2 separate regions of the Homo sapiens genome follow, and region 2 is linked to region 1. Evidence: promoter capture Hi-C in 16 types of primary human blood cells and fetal thymus (Javierre and others, 2016). All regions are on one chromosome and are shown on one strand. Each heading gives the region's core, a stretch centred on a gene start or on the middle of the fragment in contact. The rest is flanking DNA. Distances are from core to core; before and after follow the strand shown.

Region 1 (5,433 bases), core at 1,793-4,292:
GATGGGCTGGGGATTGTGGGAAGACCTTTGTGTGAGACCAAGTGTCATGCAGAGACAGCAAGAGAGAGACTGGGAATCAATTCCTTCTCCAAGGGTTTAATTAAAGTGTGGGGAAGTTTGCAATCTTATTCAGAAGTTAACATCTGAGCATAGATTTGAAGGAGGTAAGAGATGAAGCCATGTGGGTGTCAGACAGAAGCATTCCAGAGACAGGGAACAGCAGTGCAAAGGCCCTGAGGTAGGATTGTGTCTGGTTTGTTGGAAGAACAGAAAGGAAGCCTTTGTGGTGTGGCAGGAACTAAGGGAGTAGGCGGTGAGCAGAAGATAAGGTCAGAGGGAAGGGAGAAAGGTGGAGAGTGAGAACTACCTTGACATCTTGGAAAGACTTTGCCTTTTATTCTAGGTGAGTTGGGGAACCACTGGTGGTCTGAAAGCCAGAGAGTACATGATCAGGCTGACGTTTAACAGAATGCCTCTGTCTGCTGTGTTGGGAACAGACTGAGCGAGTAAGGGAGAAAGCAGGCAACTGCAGCTGACCAAAAGAGAGACAGGAGAGCTGAGATATTAATGGAGTGACCAGCAGCATCAGAATTACCAGGAGGCTTGGGAAAACAGATTGTTGGGCCCCAGCCCTGGAGCTGCTACCTGTTAGTATGGGCAGTGTCCAAGGAATTTACATTACAAGTTCCCAGGTGATGATACTGCTGGTCTGGGGGCCACACTTTGAGAACTTGTCTTTGTAGAATTTATGAAAACATTTGTTTATCAAAGTTCTCAAGGAAGCACATTGCTCGCTCCTGTGTCCCCAGTGCCTAGCGTGATGCCTGGCACGAGTCTTCATCGAGCTCAGGCTCTGGGCCAGGCTCAGTGCTATTGAATGAGGTTCATGAGGGTCCCAGGTTTGAACTGTTTGGAGGTAACTGGTGATGAAACTTTCACAGGAAGTGGTCATTAAAGGGAAAGGATTCCTTGTAATTACAATAACAACAGGTGTGACACCTACCCAGCGTCTGCCTAGATGTTTTACTTGTATCCCTCTCCAATTAAATCCTGTAAAAGCCCTGGGAGTCGGGCATTATCCCGGGATTTTTATGAATGAGAGAACCAAGGCTTGGAGAGTTTAATTTTCCCAAGACCACAGGATTAACAAGTACCAGAACCCAGCCAGGCCTGAGTGGGAGCTCTCTGCTGTTTACATCATAGGCCGCCTGAAGAAGTCACTGACAAGACCTAGTAATTAAAGAACCTCGAGAAGCTAGGAGTTTCATTCTTTGAGGACTGTGAGCTTTTTTAAAAGTGCAAAGAATATGCCATCCTTTAAAAAAATGCTTCCCATCTGAATTGAGATTCCTGTTCACACAACATGTTTTGAGCCTCCAGCCCTTCCTGGCAGAACCCTGGTAGCAGTGGCTGTCCCAACAGAAGTATTTTTGCTGACTTTTGTGGCTTAAAAGCCTTCTCTGATGGAGCACTTTTCCTCCCCTCTTCCTCTTCTCAGCCTCCTCCGGCAGGATGAAGGGTGTAAGATTTTGTGCTGAGGCGCTGAAGCTTGACAAATTGAGGCCAGCCTATCTCTAAATGGAATCCGTGTATCTTGCTAGGGAGGGAGAAAATCAAGTTCCAGCACTTCCCTCCTTATCAGCCTCTCCTTTTCCCTACCCTTCCCTGAGGATAAAAATAACCGCTTCCCAGGGCCTCACTGCGATGGAGCAACTGTGCCCCGAAGCCAGGCCTAGCTGTCAGAGCAGCTGCTCCCCGAGGCACGGCCCCGCGAGAGCCTTGGGGTCAGGACGGGGGCCTGTCCGCAGGGACGAGGTGTCCCAGGACAGGGCAGGGGCCCTTGGAGCCTCACCAAGAGAGGGGGCACTGGTGCAAGTTTGACCGCGATGGTGGGCGGCTCACAAAAATACATCAGGAGGCCCGGAAGTCCATGCACTGGCTGGCTCCACCGCCTTTAAGTACACGAGGTCTATCTGCAGTTCTTAACCTCTTTGAGGGCACAAGGACTCCCTAGAACAAATGATGACATACCACCTCTCTGTGTGCAATCAAGCATACACACAACACACAGAAACATGGACGTGGACACAAATACGCACGGAGACACATACACTTTTGCACACAGTTTCATATTATTGGAAGGCTGTCGAAGCCTGGTATGGACCACAGATTAACAACCCCAAAGGCAGGTTGATTATAGTGATGCAGAACGATTATAAAAAAAATAACAATTTGGCAGGGCGCGGTGGCTTACACCTGTAATCCCAGCACTTTGGGAGGCCGAGGTCAGTTGATCACGTGAGGTCAGGAGTTCGAGACCAACCCGGCCAACATGGTGAAACCCCGTCTCTACTAAAAATACAAAAAAATTAGTCGGGCATGGTTGCGGGCGCCTGTAATCCCAGCTACTCGGGAGGCTGAGGCAGGAGAATGGCTTGAACCTAGGAGGCAGAGGTTGCAGTGAGCCGAGATCGTGCCAGTGCACTCCAGCTTGGGTGACGGAGCAAGACTTCGTCTCAAAATAAATAAATAAAAATATAAAAATAAATAAAATTTTGTAACGTAAAAATAGGGTTAGTAAAGCGTGCTAAGATCTTTCTGGAAAACAAATATATGTAGTATAAATTCTAATAATAGATACGGAAACGATAAAGTTGATCACCGATGGTAAGATAAAGGATGATTTCTATTTATTTGAGTTTTCCCACTAAACAGGAAAGCATGCTGCTTTTTCGCAACCAGAACGGCCGCATCCAGGCGTTTCCGGGGACCTGGGGCGCCCACTGAGCTGCAGGCGCGGCCGGTGGCTCCAGCCTGGCCCGTCCGTCGGGAAAGGAGGGTTACAGACAATAGACAAGCAAACATTAGACGCAGTGACCGCGTGGGGCGGGGACCGGCTCTTGCGGAGAGGGTGACCCGAGCCCTTCGCCCGCCGAGGCACTTTAAAACCCCAGCGCGTTGCCCAGGCCGGCCCGCCCAGAGCGAAAGGTGCGTGCGCGCTCCCGGGGAGGCGGCGGCGCGCACGGGCGCGTCCCGCGGGCAGCCCCCAACTCCGGACGATGCAGCGAGGAGGCGGCGGCGGCGGCGCGCTCCGGAGGTCTGAAGCCACTGCTGGCTGCCACGGGCCGGCGGTGCGATGAGCTGGGCAGCCGCCCCCGGCTCGGGGCTGTGAGCGGCTCGGGGCCGGGGGTGGGCGGCGGTGCGGCGGGCGGCCGACGCTCCTCTTCGGCGGCGGCGGCGGCGGCCATGCGTGGGGCGGCGCGGCTGGGGCGGCCGGGCCGGAGTTGCCTCCCGGGGGCCCGCGGCCTGAGGGCCCCGCCGCCGCCGCCGCTGCTGCTTCTGCTTGCGCTGTTGCCGCTGCTGCCCGCGCCTGGCGCTGCCGCCGCCCCCGCCCCGCGGCCCCCGGAGCTGCAGTCGGCTTCCGCGGGGCCCAGCGTGAGTCTCTACCTGAGCGAGGACGAGGTGCGCCGGCTGATCGGTGAGTGGGGCCGCCGAGGCCGGGGCGGGCAGGTCGGGCCGGCTGGGGCAGCTTCCGGCCGCCGGCGGATCAGTCTGCGAGCCGTGGACCTCGGGCGAGTACCCTCCCCGCCCCCCGCGCCCGGATTCGCCTCGCGGCCCGGTCTCTGCCTGCCGTGCTGGCTGGGAGGTGTGGTCCCTGCCCGGTCCCCAGCTCTGGGTCAGCCTTCGTGCCGCCCTCGCTGCCCCGCCGCGATAGACCCAGATTCACCCCATCCCATCCTCCTCACTGCCTCCTTAGCCCTTCTCCCTAGAAGAGTCAGTCACCCTTACAACTTTTTTTCCTTGCTGCACGAAGTTTTTTTGACGCTTTCTATGTGTGTCACTCTAGGGCCCTCGATTTTGAATATCTCGAAATTCACGTTTTAGACTGAACTTGCAAACCCTTTGCTGTGGTTTTGATGCTCCAGTAGAGGCCACGCTCTGTGCTTACCCTTTTACAAAAAAAAAAAAAAAAAAAAAAAAAACGAGAGAGAAAGAAGGGGAGGTTATAAGGGCACCAAATGTTCGTGGCAGCCTCCAACTCTTGGGACGTAGATTTGGAGCATATGCTTAGATTCTAAGCATATTTTTAGTGAATGAATCGCCAGGTAGCAGACCTTTTTAGTTTCAATACCTTTTTGGTTTTTGCATTGGGTGTGTTGGGAGTTTGGACTGACTCTGTACTTCTGGGCCACTCTCCTACTTTTGAGTATCTTGAAGGGAAACAAGAACTTAGTCTTGGGTCGGTTTGTGGTTCCATTTACTTGCTTAGCTTTGTTGTTTGGGGAATTAATTTGAAAAATTGCTGGGGTCTTATGTTAGGACTTTGTGGATTCTGGAAATGACCCCTTAGAGGAAGATCTGACAGGAACGACCCCCCAAAAAGGAAGTCCTTGGTACCTAGACGTTTGCATTCTTTTGTTATTATGGCAGTATCTTTATTTCATCTGAAGGTGGTGCTTCTGAGTGTTTGAGGGGAAAAATTATTCTCTATTGCATCCATTATTTGTCAGTATTCTATTTTTTTTTAAGTAATAAGACTTTGTTGAGGTGTGTTGAGATTGACTCAGTGTAGAAATGGAATTACTGAAAGCAGACTCTTTAGACATTACATGTACGGATTTGCAGTTTTTAGCCAAAGAAGAATGCTCTTTTTATGAAGTCGTGCTCATTCTTAATCCTTCTTAGTCTAGCTGAGTTAGCTGAATGTAGTTTAGCTGAATTAAAACTCTACTTGGGGTAGTACTTGGAACACAAGACTAAGATTTAGGAAAAATAATACAAGACGACTCATATCACATTAATTTTAGAAATATTAACGTATTATGCATGGTTTTGTAAAGGCTTTTTGGTTAAAAGCACTTATATAGCTTGTGACTTTGTTTACATGGGTAAACAAAGTCAGAGGTGTAGGTAGGAGACAGAAGACAACCAGGGACTGACATTGAATTCCTGCCATATACCTGCCCCTACATGCTTTATACACATAATTTCTTCTAATTTTCTCGGGGCCCAGTGAGGTAGGTGGCATTATGCCTATTGTAGAGATGAGGAAAGTGGGGTTTTAAAGTAACTTGCTCAAGGTCACACAGTTAATTTTTTTTTAGACGGAGTCTCGCTCTTGTCACCCAGGCTGGAGTGCAGTGGCGTGATCTCGGCTCACTGCAATCTCTGCTTCCTGGGTTCAGGTGATTCACCTGCCTCAGCCTCCCAAGTAGCGACCACTTCTGGCTATTTTTTGTATTTTTAGTAGAGACAGGGTTTCACCATGTTGGTCAGGCTGGTCTTGAACTCCTGAGCTCGTGATCTGCCCGCCTCGGCCTCCCAAAGTGCTGGGATTACAGGTGTGAGCCACCGCACCTGGCCTAGTTCATATTTTTGAAAAAAATGAAACAGTGTTGACATAGGCTGCAAAGTTTTATCGAATGAAATGAA
Region 2 (5,433 bases), core at 537-3,036, 1.8 Mb after region 1:
GCATCATGAATTGTCCCCATCCTCTGTAGTGCAAAATTGCCTCACAAGACATCTTTTTCCATTGCATTTTTATAAGCCATTTTCCTTGTATTCAGCCAACTTGCACTCTCTTCTATGAGTAGTTATTTTGTCTTTGTTTCTTGCTCTTTTCTTCTTGTATGTGACATTCATTTAAGCACTTATCAGTACAGCTTATCACCCTTTCCCACTCCCTCTCCCGTGCATATCCTTCTAACTACCCCTGCTACAGATACTCATTTTAAGAAACCATATTCAAAGTACTTTCAACCATTGTTCACAAGATGTAGTTTCAAGCCTTTTCACAACCACTGGTTGCTTTTAATTGGATCCATACAATTGGATCCTTCTTAAAATGCCACAACAAAATACAAGAGTCAGGGAGAGTAGGACTTGTCTCTTCTTTCCCTATTAGGTTAAATCAGTTGGATCCTTTCCCCACCCAACTCTTTTTTAAGAGTGACAAATGCACACTTCTTTTTCTGGATTTGTCTTTTTATTCATAATTAAAGTTTGCACTAGCGTTTCTGACACTTTCATAGTGCAGATGTATCAAATTTACAATCTAAATTATGTGATGTACACTTAAAATATTTCACAGCTTTTTAAAAAATACATTTCACAGCCTTTTAGGCACCAATAGCCTTTATCAGTCTCCAAAGTTAGCATACAAGGCTGGAGTGATCTAAGACTTTAGAGAGCCCACAAGAATGTCAAACACTTGCTTATCTAATTCCCATTGCTGCTAAATTGACCTTCCTAATTATATCAATGCCCAGATCCAAAGTAAATCCTTAAGAACTCATACCACTCAACAATGCTTGAACTATGTTTTCAGTACAGTAGCCACTAGCCCTATGTGGCTACTGAACACAGAATAAAAATTAAAATTGTTACAAAAAAATGTAAAATGTTGCATTAGCAATTTTTATATTGATTACACGTGTTAAAAGAAAAAAATATTTAGGCCGGGCACGGTGGCTCACGCCTGTAGTCCCAGCACTTTGGGAGGCTGAGGCGGGTGGATCACCTGAGGTCAGGAGTTTGAGACCAGCTTGGCCAACATGATGAAACCCCGTCTCTACTAAATATAAAAAAATTAGGCGGGCCTGGTGGTGCATACCTGTAATCCCAGCTATTCGGGATGCTGAGGCAGGAGAATCACTTGAACCTGGGAGGGGGAGGTTGCAGTGAGCCGAGATGGTGCCACTGCACTCCAGCCTGGGCAACAAGAGTGAAACTCTCAAAAAAAAAAAAAGTATTATTTAATGATACTTGTTAAAGCTTGGTAATAGGCTGAGCATGATGGCTGACACCTGTAATCCCAAGGCTTTGGGAGGCCAAGTCAGGAGGATCACTTGAGGCCAGGAGTTTGAGACCAGCCTATGCAATGTAGTGGGACCCCATTGCTACAAAATAATAAAAATAAAAGCATTATCTGGGCATGGGGGCATGCCCCTGTAGTGCTAGTTACTCAGGAGGCTGAGGTGAGAGGATCTCTTGAGCCCAGGAGTTCGAGGTTACAGTGAGCTATAATTGTGCCACTGCACTCCTGCCTGGGCAGCAGAGAAAGACCCTGTACCCCCTGCTCCCCACAAAAAAGATTTTATTCAGTTTATTTACGATCATTACAATAGGTACAGGAGCCACTGCAACAGGGGCTTGCAGTAAGGGAGAGAGACGGGGCTCAGGTCGGAAAACGACACGGGCAAGTATGCATTTATCTCCAAGGAACAGTGTGTGGGGGTCAGTGGATGGAAAATTACTAAGAGAAAACATCAGGGGTGAGCGGGGATCCTGGCTAAACCTACGTAACAGGATTCTTGCTAAAGACAGGCCAGAGTGATTAGACATCTTCTGGGGGAAGGTGAAAGATGAGGAATCTGATCACATATCGAGGGAATTTTGGCTAAACTGACTTAGCCAGGTTCTTTTGCAGACTAGACTTTTCAAGGAAGCACACAGAGGGGCCTAAGGAAAGGTTCAGAAGCCTGATTAAAATTTGGCTGAGCAAAGACTCTTTGTCACATGTGGAAATGATAATATTATGGCTGTATATTTGGTTAAATAAAATGTTATTAAAATTAATTTCACTTGTTTCTTTTAAGGAATGTAGCTACTAGTAAATGTAAAATTAAATATATGGCTCCCATTGTATTTCTCTTGGACAATACTGCTATTAGAAAATCTTGTGCAAGCAAACAGTAAGTGTCAGAAAACAACTACGTCGAGTTGGTGAGCTTGAAGCTTCCACAGAATCTTCTACTGGACTTCATTTTAATTTGTTATGTGATTGGTTGGTTGTTTGTCTTTAGTGGTTTTTCTCAAGATTTATCTGGCCACACGTATTTAGTTTTCTGTGTTTCTCTATACTGTAATTCAAATAATTGAAATTATTTACAACATATGACAAATTATGACATGAGAATTTCTTGACATATATACATATGTATCTGTATATATATATAGGATCCACAATTTTTTTTTTTTGTAACTGATAGCCTGGCTTCCCCAGCTCACTTAATCCTACCCCAGGAAGTCTAGTTTTATTATTAATGTGAATTAAAATATCTTTTTAAATAGTATAATGATGTTCATATATAAAGGATTTTGAATTTATAATATTTTATTAACAAAAACATGCTTTCATTTAATTACAGGAAATTATCTAGATTTGATTATATTTTCAAAGATGGATGAGGAGGGAAAAGAAAATAACTTATTCTGTGGTCTAACAATTTTAAACTATTATTGAAATTTTAACTGGTTAAGAAAAAGGCCTGTGTTCTTTTTCCTTATTAAATTTTACCACAACTGCTCTTTTACAATATATACACTGCTGAGGGTTTTCTAATTCAGGTGTTCTTACTAATTAATTCAAATACTTCTTGTATTATCAGATTTGAGAAAACTCAAGAACCTTATGTGGTTTTTTCCATAAAGGGTTTTGAAGTGAACAAGATTTCCAATCTGCTATGAAATTATTATATTCAGACATTTTTAGTCATCAGCACTTGAAGGAAATATAATGTAGTTTAAAAAACTCACAGGCAAGTTCGTTATCCTCTTTGAGTCTTAGTTCCCTCTTCTGTAAACTTCAGATATTGATACCTACCTTGAGAGACATTTGCAGGAGTTACATAACTTATGTAGAGCACTTCATTACTGAGCACACACTATAGTTAATATCAGGGTCTCCAGCTTGTTTATGTAATCCTTGTCTTTGAGTTTTTAAATGAAACAGGTTTGCTGTAGTTCTTATCATCAGAGGACTAACCAGATGAAGATAATACAGATAATAACTTATATAGAGCAGTTCATTACTGAGCACACACTATAGTTAATATCAGGGTCTCCAGCTTCTTTATGTAATCCTTGTCCTTGCGTTTTTAAATGAAACAGGTTTGCTGTAGTTATCATCAGAGGACTAACCAGATGCTAATAATACAGAATGTCAGATAAGCAGATATTCTGTATTATTAGCAGAATGGGGAAAGTTCAAGTGTTCATTCTTGACAACCATATTTGAATACTCCTATCATGAGACATCATTAAATAGTTCATTTTATTTATTATGGAGAACACAGAGTTGACTTGTTCAATTCATCTGTGAATGTTAACAATGCAAAAAAGTCTTACATGCATGGAATTTCGACAGTCACAATATATTTTAAAAATGGTGATCCAAAACTTGACCATGAGGAAGTTCTTAGAATGACAATGACTCATTCACGCCTAAATCAAGGTGAGTTAATCAGGTGCAACAAAAGCTTTTTTTTCCCACTAATTTTGTTAAAGATCATTGCAACCACATAGAAGGAAAGGATATCTATTCATTAATCTTGGATAATAACTTATTCATATTATGCCTATCTGAGAACATAAAACTTCATTACCCAAATTATTGCTGGCTTTGAGCATATAAAGATGATATGACTGTTATTTCCATGTAAAACTTAATTTTGTCAATGAAAAGATGATTTTTTTTTCTTTTTGTGAGCAACAGTAAATGAGGTGGCAGCCACCTACTTAGCGTAAAGGAAAATAAAACATAAAAGAAGTAGTATTTCAAGCTCAACTAATTAGCTTGTAAAGTTATTGGTTCTCAAATCTATACAGTGAAGTCTGAGAAAAAAAAAAGTAAATCAATGTAAACCAAAATAAAAAGCACATACTAACAAAGCCAATTTGAAAAAAATCTTACTAATATAGAAGAAACTCACATATACTAGTCACTGCAAATGTTAAAGTTACTTTGGGTCTATTCCTAATCTGCCTGTCAGACAAACTTTGAGAGTTGAAGGATTATACATCATACTACTATAGAGACACATGCTCACATATGTTTATTGCAGCACTATTTACAATAGGAAAGACCTGGAACCAACCCAAATGCCCATCAATGATAGACTGGATAAAGAAAATGTGGCACATATATACCATGGAATACTATGCAGCCACAACAAAGAATGAGTTCATGTCCTTTGCAGGGACATGGATGAAGCTGGAAACCATCATCCTCAGAAAACTAACACAGGAACAGAAAACCAAACACCGCATGTTCACACTCATAAGTGTGAGTTGAAAAATGAGAACACATAGACACGGAGGGGAACATCACCCACTGGGGCCTGTTGTGGGGTCGGGGGAAAGGAGAGAGAGAGCATTAGGACAAATACCTAATACATGCGGAGCTTAAAACTTAGATGACAGGTTGATAGGTGCAGCAAATCACCATGGCACATGTATACCTATGCAACAAACCTGCACGTTCAGCACATGTATCCCAGAACTTAAACTAAAATTTTGTTTAAAAAAGGTTTTTTTAAAAAAAGTCTATAACCATCAGCGCATGTATCCCAGAACTTAAAGTAAAATTTTAAAAAAAGTATGGTTTGAACATGTTAAGTTTTAGAAACCCTGTATATTTCCAGAGTAAATACTATTGCCTACCCAATATCATTTTCCTCTTCTTCCCTACAAGTTGAAGGTGGCAATGTGCCACCTACAAGTACTACATCGTCAACCTCCTCTCAGATCGGCTGACCATATCAGAGATGACATAAGTCTGGCCGATGAAACATAAGCAGATATTGTTGGTGTGGGCTATCAGATTCAGCTAGTAGGTGTCCTTTTTCCCCCACCCTTTACGTTTTTTTTGTGCCCAGAGCATAGTTGTGATGGCTAGAGCTGCTTGTCTGTGGGCATCTGCTTCATTTCTGAATTCATTACTCAATGATGTTACATTTTTTAAGGGCTGGGCTATTGAGTGTCACTGTGTTATTCATGCAAATAAAAAGAAATTAATAGAGTATTACTATTTCAGCACAATATAGTAAGAGGCTACCAATAAAAATAGCCACATTAATGAGCTTCACAGAACAAAGTGCAATTTTGTTTGGTATTCCTTTGAAT

Evidence for each region. The method cuts DNA at HindIII sites, captures the fragments that hold promoters and counts their contacts. A CHiCAGO score of 5 or more calls a contact.
Region 2: a fragment that was not itself captured here is called in contact with the fragment with the promoter of RYK in region 1 in 1 of 17 cell types (naive B cells); the score reaches 7.1 in naive B cells.

The regions. Positions count from the first base shown.
Region 1 is chr3:134,248,468-134,253,900 of GRCh38, reverse strand. RYK (receptor like tyrosine kinase) reads left to right here and starts at 3,042. Exons shown (of 15, transcript NM_002958.4): 1 at 3,042-3,478. The coding sequence starts at 3,247. RefSeq lists a silencer at 2,868-3,687 and an enhancer at 3,023-3,801. The HindIII fragment of the contact is 6,752 bases long and covers 1,551-5,433 here.
Region 2 is chr3:132,410,337-132,415,769 of GRCh38, reverse strand. No RefSeq gene overlaps it. Among named protein-coding and RNA genes, the nearest start is that of DNAJC13, 4.4 kb to the left of the region's middle. The HindIII fragment of the contact is 963 bases long and covers 1,305-2,267 here.